Regions from separate parts of the Homo sapiens genome. Here region 2 is linked to region 1. The links are contacts of gene promoters, found by promoter capture Hi-C in human tissues and cell types (Jung and others, 2019). All regions are on one chromosome and are shown on one strand. Each heading gives the region's core, a stretch centred on a gene start or on the middle of the fragment in contact. The rest is flanking DNA. Distances are from core to core; before and after follow the strand shown. Region 1 holds the start of HAS3 (hyaluronan synthase 3). Region 2 overlaps TANGO6 (transport and golgi organization 6 homolog).

Region 1 (5,218 bases), core at 1,428-3,927:
GTTCTAATGGATTCCTGCCTCATGTCTCAGGTAAGTCATTTCCCTAAAAATGGAAACACTTCCGGCCCCGAAGAGCTACCCTAGTGGTGAGGGTGACTGTGGTTTCCTCCAGAGCAGGTGGGGAGGGGGATGTGAGGGAGGGGAAAGAAAAGGTGGCAAGGATGGCTGCCGGCCTTCCCATTCTGACCCACACTATCTCCTCTCTGCCACCTGCCTGATCTAGAGAACCCCATGTTCACTGAGGTCTACAGACAATGATGCCTCGCTTCCAAGCTTGCTCCAACTCTTAGGTCTCAGGAAACGGAGCCCCCAAAACAAACACACTTTCCTGTCGGGACGCCTCTCACGTAGAAGGGACGAAGAACACGCAGTCACTGCCTAAATCGACCTGAGACTCCGGCACTAGCAGCCTTCCAGCAGCGTTGGCCCGAAAAGAGCTGCTGGCAGCCTAGCCTCTCCGGGAAGCGCGGCCTCCGGGCGCTCTGCCCCACCGTCCCGGGGAGCCCGCCGTGTGCTTCCTTCACAGGACTCCCAGCCCTCCCTGTTGCCACCCTACTGCTCGCGCCTGCGGCCCAGGAGTCCCCAGGCCTGCATCCGCAGCCTAGGAGCGCCCCCATTCCCCTCCGGAGCTTACATGCTGAAGGGGCGCGGCGGGACCCCCCTGCCTGCCTGCGCTCTGGGTAGGGGAAGGGGGCGCCAAGGCCAGCCCAGCAACCTGGGCGCTGGCGCCCCGCCTCGGTGCAGTGCCGGAGGCGGCGCCCACCAGGTCAAAGCAGCCGCGAACGCACTCGCCACGCTTCTCATCCCCGCTCGAGCCTCGCCTCTTGGCAAAGGCGGCGCCGGCCACACCCACGTGCCGCTTTCCCACGACCCAACCGGGAAGGAACGGAAAACCCAAGGGATCCCAGTCGGACCAGGCCCTGCTCTTCCTGGTACCCCAGCTACCTTGGCAAAGTGTGCCTGTAGACAAAGGCGCATCCCCGGTGTAGCCGGCCCTCTCCTTCCCTGGGCGGGACCCCTCCCCCGCAGGAATTAGAGGCATTACCCAGGTTACTACCCCCACCCCCAAATAGAGGCCCCCAAAATGTCCCTCAGCCAGATACCCCACGTGCAATCAGGCGCTGGTGCAGGCTGTGGTCGAGGTTCTCCTGCCCAGACCTGGGGCGGGGGGCTGTGTCACCCCAAGCCGGCAGAGGCTGTGGGGTGATCCTACAGCCTGGACCGCCGCCTCCTCATGCCCTTCGCTCATCCACGGGAGCCCAGCCCAGGCAAACTAACGCGCACTCGGCTTTCAAGGGCACAAGGTTGGGGGCGCTCTCAAGTCCGGCTCCCAGGACTACGGAAGGAGAACCCCCAGTCAAGGACGCACGCTTCTCCATCAAGCCTCCGAAACTTTGAGGGGCTGCTGGTGTGCAGCGTCTCTCCCGCTGACAGGTGCGCCCCGCGGCAGGGCCACACGCAGCGGCATGGAAACTTGTGCGCCCAACGGGGCTCCTCCTCTTGTGCCCGGCCGCCCTCCGGGCCCCTCCAGGCCGGCCAGGGGAGGGGAGCCCACTCCCCCGGACACGTGCTGCCGCGGCCCGGCTAACCCGCAGGAACGTGGGCGCCTGGTACCTTGGTGCCCGGACAGGTGCAAACCCCCGGGAGGTCGTAGAAGGTGCGGGGGAGGGGTACCCCAGCCAGCCTGGAGCCCCGCACCGGCGTCCGCCTCCTAATTCATTCACAAAACAGGAGCCGCCGGGGAGGAGGGAGGCGAGGCTGGAAGAGGAGAGGATGCAGGAAGAAAGGGAGGAGGGGTCAGTGGGGAGGGGGCTGCAGGAACGGCCGCCGGGAAGCCCGGGGCTGCCGCCGCCCCCAACCCGCCTCCCCGCGCCGGACGCGGCGCCCGCAGGGCTGGGAGCTGGCCGGGTGCGGGGGGCTCGGCGAGAGGCACCCCTGCCACCCGGCGCGCCCCGGCCTCGGCGCAGCCCCGCGCGGCCCTCCCCTCCTGGGTGCCGGCCGGCCCGCGCTCACCGTGCCGCCGGCTGCCGCGCTCCGGAGCTCAGCAGGCCCGCGGCGGCTCCATGCCCCTCCTCCCGCTCCGCTCCGCGCCGCCGCGCGCTCCGACTGCCGCCTGCCCAGCCGAGCCGCCCTTAAGTACCCGGCGCGTGCCCGCCAGGAGAGGCGCCTCCCCCGGCCCTGGGGCCGGGAAAGTTGACCAGAGTGGGAGGGCCCCCGCGGGCGCACCCCCGACCCCGCGCGGTCCCAGGGAGCGCCACAAGCCAGCGCTCGGCGGGGACGCCTAGTCCCGGGTGGACGCGGCTCCGGCTCGCAAGACTCGCAGCCCCTGCGCCCTCTCCGAAGCTGGGTCCCCCGAGTGGGGCCGAAGGCCACGCGGCTCTGCAATCGCCCTGGGACCAGCTGCCAAGGCAAGACGGTCATTGGGCTCAACCTAGAACCTGAAGCGTCGTTAACTTTCCAGATACCACGCAGGGACTTCCAAAATTGTTACTCTCCCTCCCCGCCCCCACGCCCCGCTCTCTAACCCGCAAAACCTACTCACCCTGCAAGGAAGGCGAGCTGAGAGCACTCTTCCCCGACTTCTGCACGCGAAGGGGCAGTTCGCTGTCTAGGGGGCTCCCGAAAGCCAAGGCAGCAAAACCTTCCTGCTGGCAGGAAAGAGGCGCTGAAGAGAATTGTCAAATGTAAAAAGGCTGGTCAAAGAAGGTGTTAACAATTGTGACAGCTTAGCTTTGAATTCCGCAGTGGGGCGCTGATGACTTTAAGGCGGTTTGCAAAAGCTGCAAACGGTTTTGTAGGAACCTTGGAGGTTCCGGTGTCTTAAAGCCAAAACAATTCCTCCTCTTCTTTTTCACACCTTTATTTCCGACATCCATGACCTCCTAAATTCCCAACTGACCTTATCGACAGTAGTTTTCAGGTCCCTAAAAGATAGTGCTAGACTCGAGTAAAGTGAGATGAAGTGAGTTGGGGTGCACTGGGGTGGGGTGAGATCGAGGAGGGGGGAGAGTTGTTAGCAGAGACAAGAAGTTTAGAACCAGCTGAAGGCGATGAGTTTTTACATCTCAGGAAAACTTGAAGAGAAATTATAATTAATAACTAGTTTTTAAAAAATGAGTGGCCGGGCGCCGTGGCTCAAGCCTGTAATCTCAGCACTTTCGGCGTTACGGGCACCATGCCCGTAATCCCAGCTACTCGGGAGGCTGAGGCAGGAGAATCGCTTGAACCCCGCAGGTGGAGGTTGCAGTGAGCTGAAATCGCACCACTGCACTCCAGCTTGGGCAGCAGAGCGAGACTCCGTCTCCAAAAAAAAAAAAAAAAAAAAAAAAAAAAAAAACCAAAAAACAGAGTTTACCTGTTTTCCAAATACACCTGATATAATTTCTATCACTTCTTCCCAAGCTGCAACAAATTTATAGGCACCTGAGCTGCAGTCTATAAACTTCTCCTCTCGCAAGTTTTAGGGGCTCAGGGACTTGCCTGCCCACCATTGCTCAGTCTGGGCCACAGACCTCACACCTCAGTCCCCGCAGGCAAGCAAAGACCCCAGGCACACCTACTCCACACAATCCCATCTTACATTATTGGCCAGGCACAGTGGCTCACACCTGTAGTCCCAGCACTTTGGGAGGCTGAAGATGGAGGATCGCTTGAGGCCAGGAGTTCAAGACCAGCCTGGGCAACAAAGCGAGACTTCCCCCGTCTCTACAAAAATTAAAATTAAAAAATTAGCCAGGGCCGGGTGCAGGCTCACGCCTGTAATCCCAACACTCTGGGAGGCCGAGGTGGGCGGATCACGAGGTCAGAAGTTAGAGACCAGCCTGGCTAATATGGTGAAACCCTATCTCTACTAAAAAATACAAAAATTAGCCAGGCATGGTGGCACGTGCCTGTAGTCCCAGCCACTGGGAAGGTTGAGGCAGAAGAATCGCTTAAACCCAGGAGACAGAGGTTGCAGTGGGCCAAGATTATGCCACTGTACTCCAGCCTGGGCGACAGAGTGAGACTCCATCTCAAAAAATAAAAATAAAAAAAAAAAGAAAAAGAAAAGAAAAGAAAAAAAAAAAAAACATTAGCCAGGCATGGTGGAGTGTGCCTGTAGTCCCAGCTACTAGGGAGGCTGAGGCAGGAGAATTGCTTGAGCCCAGGAGGTCAAGGCAACAGTGAGCTATGATCGAACCACTACACTCCAGCCTGGGTAACAGAACAAGACGCTGTCTCAAAAACAAATTCCTGGACTCCAGCAGCCCTTCCGCCTCAGCCTCCCTAGGAGCTAGTCCTATAGGCATGCTATCCAGCCCAGCTGCCAATGTGTTTTGAACTTCAGATGGCCTGAGGGGCCCTACCAGAGCCATTCCTACTTACACAAAGATGGAGAAGAAGCCTTAGGTTGGTGGAGGGGAGGGCTCTAGAGTCTGCCAGTAAGCCCCAGTGTCTTCATCCCACAGATGGGATTGCTAGGCGGACTGATAGGAAGTTTGAAGAGATTGGCTGAGGGTAAGCGCTCAGCAAGTGTTAGTAAACCAGACAGCAGCATCCTTTGCCCATGCCACGGGTTCTACATGGCCATCCCTCTAGAGCACTCAGTGACAGCAAGTTCAAGGATCAGTGTTTGAATAAAAGAAAACTGCCTGGCCGGGTGTGGTGGCTCACACCTGTAATCCCAGCACTTTGGGAGGCTGAGGCGGGTGGATCACCTGAGGTCGGGAGTTTGAGACCAGCCTGGCCAACATGGTGAAACCCTGTCTCTACTAAAAATACAAAAAATTATCCAGGTGTGGTGGCAGGCGCCTGTAATCCCAGCTACCCAGGAGGCTGAGGCAGGAGAATCACTTGAACCCAGGAAGCAGAGGTTGCAGTGAGCCGAGATCGTGCCACTGCATTCCAGCCTAGGCAACAAGAGGGCAACTCCATCTCAAAAGAAAGAAAGAAAGAAAAATGTCTTGTCTCTCTTGCATTATGAACCCTGGAGCCCTGGGCTACCTCCTGCACACCCAGAGGCATCACAGACCCCTGGAGTTGCTGCAGATGAGGATATCTCTGATCCTTCCTCCTTCCCAGATTTGCAATCTGCAACATCAGAGAAAATAAGCAGGGGCTTGGCAAGGGCAAAAATGAGTGCATCAGCCTGGTGGAGAGCAAACGCTCCGTTTAGAGGCTCATCTCCCTGTGGAGGGAGGGCCTCATGTGGCCAGGTGCTCTGTTGTCAAGAGAAGCC
Region 2 (5,218 bases), core at 819-3,318, 37 kb after region 1:
TCTTTTCTTTTCTTTTTCTTTTTTTTTGAGAAGGAGTCTCGCTCTATCGCCGAGGCTGGAGTGCAGTGGCACGATCTCGGCTCACTGCAACCTCCGCTTCCTGGGTTCAAGTGATTCTCCTGCCTCAGCCTCCTGAGTAGCTGGGATTACAGGCACATGCCACACCTAGCTTTTTTTTTTTTTTTTTTTTAGTACAGACAGGGTTTTGCAATGTTGGTCAGGCTGGTCTTGAACTCCTGACCTCATGTGATCTGCCCGCCTCGGCCTCCCAAAGTGCTGGGATTACAGGCATGAGCCACCGTGCCTGGCCCACTACTTTATTTTCTTAATAAACTTGCTTTTACTTTGCAATGTGGACTCGCCCTGAATTCTTTCTTGCGCGAGATCCAAGATCCCTTTCTTGGGGTCTGGAATGGAGACCCCTTTCCTTGTAACAGTTGTATTTAGAAATTCAATATTCTATAGAAACAAGAGATGAAGCAAACAAAGATCAAAAAGAAAGAAGGCTACATTCCACACAATCCTATCAACCACCAATTGTGACTCCCTTTGTGGTTGAGAAATAAATAAGAGGCACAAAGACAAAAACAGAGGAATAACACGCAAGTTATACACCGAAATAATAAGACAGGTGAAGACAGGGGAAAGAGGTGAACTGGAGCTGGTGGCTGGAGATTGTCCTGGCAGAAAAAAAGATTCTCTAGATTGAGGTCCAGAAGAGAAGACTCCAGAATCCGACTAGTTCTGTTTAAAAACATGTTGGAATAAGCATTAGGTGTGGTATGAATCTGTCAGAAAGCAACAGTCCAACTTCTAAGCACCTTCATCTTGCCCAAGATGTGATTTTGTGGCTAAGAGATGTGAGAGGGAACAGATGAGACTATTACGGGGCAGAGAGTCAAGAATTGTCAGTAGAGAACAACTCAGCAAAATTTCCCACATTGTGTGCAGGAGACTAGGCTAAGTATTCTGCTGAATGGCTCCCACACCCAGGAGCTCACACCCTGTTGGGGAGGCAGACACACAGAATTAAGCCTAATGGTCAGGAGGCAGGCAAACTGAGTGAAGTGGACCCTAGAGCTCCCAATTATTAGCTAGGGAATCTTGAACAAACTACTTCACTTCTAGGAACCCCAGTGATCTCGTCTATAAAATGGGAATAAGTTTGCCTCCTGAAGGTTGCAATAAGAATTAATGTATCTAAAGATCCAAAAACATGGCTGGGTACGGTGGCTCATGCCTGTAATCCCAGCACTGTGGCAGGCTGAGGCGGGTGGATCACCTGAGGTCAGGAGTTCGAGACCAGCCTGGCCAACATGGCAAAACCCCTTCTCTACTAAAAATAGGAAAAAAATTACCTGGGCGTGGTGGCGGGCACCTGTAATCCCAGCTACACGGGAGGCTGAGGCAGAAGAATTGCTTGAATCTGGGAGGCGGAGGTTGCAGTGAGCCAAGATGGCGTCACCGCACTCCAGCCTGGGCGACAAGAGCGAGACTCCATCTCAAAACAACAACAAAAACAAAGATCCAAGCACAAGGAATTGCAAATGGTGGGTGCTAAAGAAGTGATGGTTTGTCAGTGAAGACTGTGACCTCTGTGAGGGCCAGGACTATGTCCATCCTGTAACTCTTACATCACTGAGGCCTGGAAGAGAGCCTAACATGCAGTAAATCTTTGAAGAATGAATGAATGGCAACGGTAGCTAATCCTTACATAGTACTTGGTATATGCCAGGTATGATTCCAGGCATTTTGTCTACATTAACTCAATCCCCACAACACAATTATCATTTCCAATTTGCCCAGGTTCACACAGCTAGTAATGGGTAGATCCAGGATTCAAACCCTGGTAGCCTGACTCCAGAGTAGTGTTCTTTATTAATCACTATACTGTACCGTCTCTCAAAGCGGTTTTTATTATGACTATTACTATTATTGAGACAGAGTCTCTCTGTACCCAGGCTGGGGTACAGTGGCACGATCATAGCTCACTGCATGCAGCCTTGAAGCTCAGGTGATCCTCCTGCCTCAGGCTCCCAAGCAGTTGGGACTATAGGTGTGCATCACCATGCTCAGGTAATTTTTTTTTTTTCAAGACAAGAGTCTTGCTCTGTTGCCCAGGCTGGAGTGCAGTGGTGTGATCTTGGCTCACCGCAACCTCTGCCTCCCAGATTCAAGCAATTCTTCTGCCTCAGCCTCCCGAGTAGCTGGGACTACAGGCATGTGCCACCATGCCTGGCTAATTTTTGTATTTTTAGTAGAGATGGGGTTTATTTTCTTTTTTTTTTTTTTTTTTTGAGACAGAGTTTCACTCTTGTTGTCCAGGCTGGAGTGCAGTGGTGCAATCTTGGCTCACCACAACCTCCGCCTCCTGGGTTCAAGCAATTCTCCTGCCTCAGCCTCCCGAGTAGCTGGGATTACAGTCATGTGCCACCACACCCAGCTAATTTTGTATTTTTAGTAGAGACAGGGTTTCTCCATGTTGGTCAGGCTGGTCTTGAACTCCCAACTTCAAGTGATCCGCCCGCCTCGGCCTCCCAAAGTGCTGGGATTAGAGGCATGAGCCACTGTGCCCGGCCAGTAGAGACAGGGTTTCACCATGTTGCCCAGGCTGGTCTCCAACTCCTGACCTCATGATCCGCCCGCCTTGGCCTCCCAAAGTGCTGGGATTATAGGCGTGTGCCACGGCGCCCAGCGTTTTTTTTTTTTTTTTTTTGAGATGGAGTTTTGCTCTTGTTGCCTAGGCTGGAGTTCAGTGGCGCAATCTTGGCTCACTGCAACCTTCACCTCCCAGGTCTCCAGGTTCAAGCGATTCTCCTGCCTCAGCCTCCTGAGTAGCTGGGATTACAGGCACCCGCCAACACGCCTGGCTAATTTTTTGTATTTTTAGTAGAGATGGGGTTTCACCATGTTGGCCAGGATGGTCTCGAATGCCTGACCTCAGGTGATCCACCCGTCTTGGCCTCCCAAAGTGCTGGGATAACAGGCATGAGCCACCGTGCCCAGCCTCAGCTAATAAAAAAAAAATTTTTTTTGTAGGCCAGGCACAGTAGCTCATACCTATGATCCCGGCACTTCGGGAGGTAAAGGTGAGAGGATTGCTTGAGCCCAGGAGTTTGAGGCCAGCCTGAGCAACACAGCAAGACCCTTTGTCTACAAGAAATAATAGAATTAGTCGGGCATGGTGTCACGCATTTGTGGTCCCAGCTACTTGGGAAGCTGAGGAGGGAAGATCACTTGAGCCTGGGTGGTTGAGGCTATACTGAGCCGTGATTGCACCACTGCATTCCAGCCAGGGTAACGAAGCAAGAAAGACCCTATCTCAAAAACAAAAACAAATTTTTTGTAGAGACGGGGTCTTGATATTTTGCCGAGGCTTGTCTTAAACTCCTGGCCTCAAGCAATCCCCCCACCTCAGCCTCTCAAAGTGGTTATTATTTTCACTACCATGGAGTGGGAGGCATAAGGCACATATAACCACCTACCTTACGAGTATATTGTGGGGATCAAAAAAGATAATGTATGTGAGAGTATTTCACTATCATCAGCAAAGTGATAAATAATTCAAAGTATTGTTATTATTACCACCACATTAAGAAAATTGGGTTTACCACCAAGGAATAAGAATAGGAGGGGAAGTCCGGGCGCGGTGGCTTATGCCTGTAATCCCAGCACTTTGGGAGGCCAAGGTGGGCAGATCACTTTAGGTCAGGAGTTCAAGACCAGCCTGGCCAACATGGTGAAACCCTGTCTCTACTAAAAATACAAAAAAACTAGCCGGGCATTGTGGTGTGTGCCTGTAATCCCAGCTACTTGGGAAGCTGAGGCCAGAGAACTGCTTGAACCTGGGAGGCAGAGGTTGCAGCGAGCCAAGATCACGCCATTGCACTCCAACCTGGGCAACAGAGCGAGACGCCATCTCAAAATAAATAAATAAATAAACAAATGAATGAATGAATGAATAGGAGGGGGAAAGGCACAGCTCTGAAAACAAAGACTAGAGAGGAGAAGCCAAAGGCAGAGTGGCTGGGCAGATGAATAAATGAAGGCGAGTGAGAGGAAGAGGGAGGTGGCGTAGATGCGGGGAAATGAATTTAATGTAGTCTGAACACAGTATCAGGCCAGCGCAGGTCAGATGATGTTGGTAGCTGGCACACTGGAAGCTCTGATCAAGCTATGCTGCAGAATGGAAAGCATCAGGAAGAATTCTGCCGGGGAAGCAGAAAGGGGCCAGACTCCAAGGTCTTTGAGGCGAGTGGCCTCTCTAAGATAATGGGCAGGAAACAAATAAATTGGGGAAGCAGAATGGACACAGACAATCTGGACCTCATTCAGGAGCTCTGGACTGAAGAAGAATAATGCTTTCCTGATAAAACCCAAACTTTCACTTTGATGGGTCTATGAAAAAGAAATTAGGGCCAATTCAAACCTGAAAGACCAGGCTTTTGAGACACTTCACTGAAAGCGTCAGGACGGTCAGTAAAGAAAGGCAGGATTACTAATGTCTAAGAGATTTCTACCCATGCCTGACAGATAGAAAATCTCAAACACACTGAAGTTCACAGTGGCATTATTATTAACTGGAGGTTACTGAGCTTTTCAAAAACCTTTTATTTTAAGAGTATTTTTCTCTGCTAGACCTAGAGATAAATGGCACTTTTACCCTTTCTGGCTACTAAATGAGGAGAGCATCTAAAGTGCAAATTGGAGATGGGGTGGAAAGGAGATGAGGCGGGTATCATGTGTGGTTTTTCCTGAGAAAAAGGGAGAAATATTTAACTGGTCAAGTGCCAAAAATGCTACAGGGACATGGACAGTTTAGGTTGTTTAGGGACAAAGACCAAGATGGTGGGTAGCAGTTAACCCTTGGGAGGGATGATAGCTCAGGAGTCCTAAACAAAAAATAGGCGGTCAGAACTCCCAACACCTAACTGTGTGTGCTCCCTGGCTGGCTTATGCTGAGGCATGCTGCCCAAGGGCTGGAGTGGTCAGTGACCATGCAGCTCCCTGCAGCTGGGACAGGAGTGGCAGCTGTGGTGGCAGGAGCAGCGGTGGCAAAATGTTTCAGAATGTCTTTAAATAGCAACCTGAGGAAGGCGGCAGCTTTCCTACACCCCCACAAGCCCTGAAATAGCACAAAGCAGCAGGGAAAATGGTCGAAGTGTGTGCAAAGGCAGCAGGCTACTGCTTACGAGAAAAGAGATTGGGAGTGTTGTCC

What was found. Contacts are between HindIII fragments. The study calls those that stand out against the background at their distance.
Region 2: a contact is called between a fragment that was not itself captured here and the fragment with the promoter of HAS3 in region 1, in 1 of the 25 tissues and cell types used here (mesenchymal stem cells).

The regions. Positions count from the first base shown.
Region 1 is chr16:69,103,112-69,108,329 of GRCh38, reverse strand. It overlaps HAS3 (hyaluronan synthase 3), which reads right to left and starts at 2,677. Exons shown (of 4, transcript NM_001199280.2): 1 at 2,543-2,677. RefSeq lists a silencer at 2,051-2,330 and an enhancer at 2,464-3,012. The HindIII fragment of the contact is 9,378 bases long and covers 1-5,218 here.
Region 2 is chr16:69,065,017-69,070,234 of GRCh38, reverse strand. All of the region lies in intron 17 of TANGO6 (transport and golgi organization 6 homolog), which reads right to left. Among named protein-coding and RNA genes, the nearest start is that of HAS3, 38 kb to the left of the region's middle. The HindIII fragment of the contact is 7,887 bases long and covers 1-5,218 here.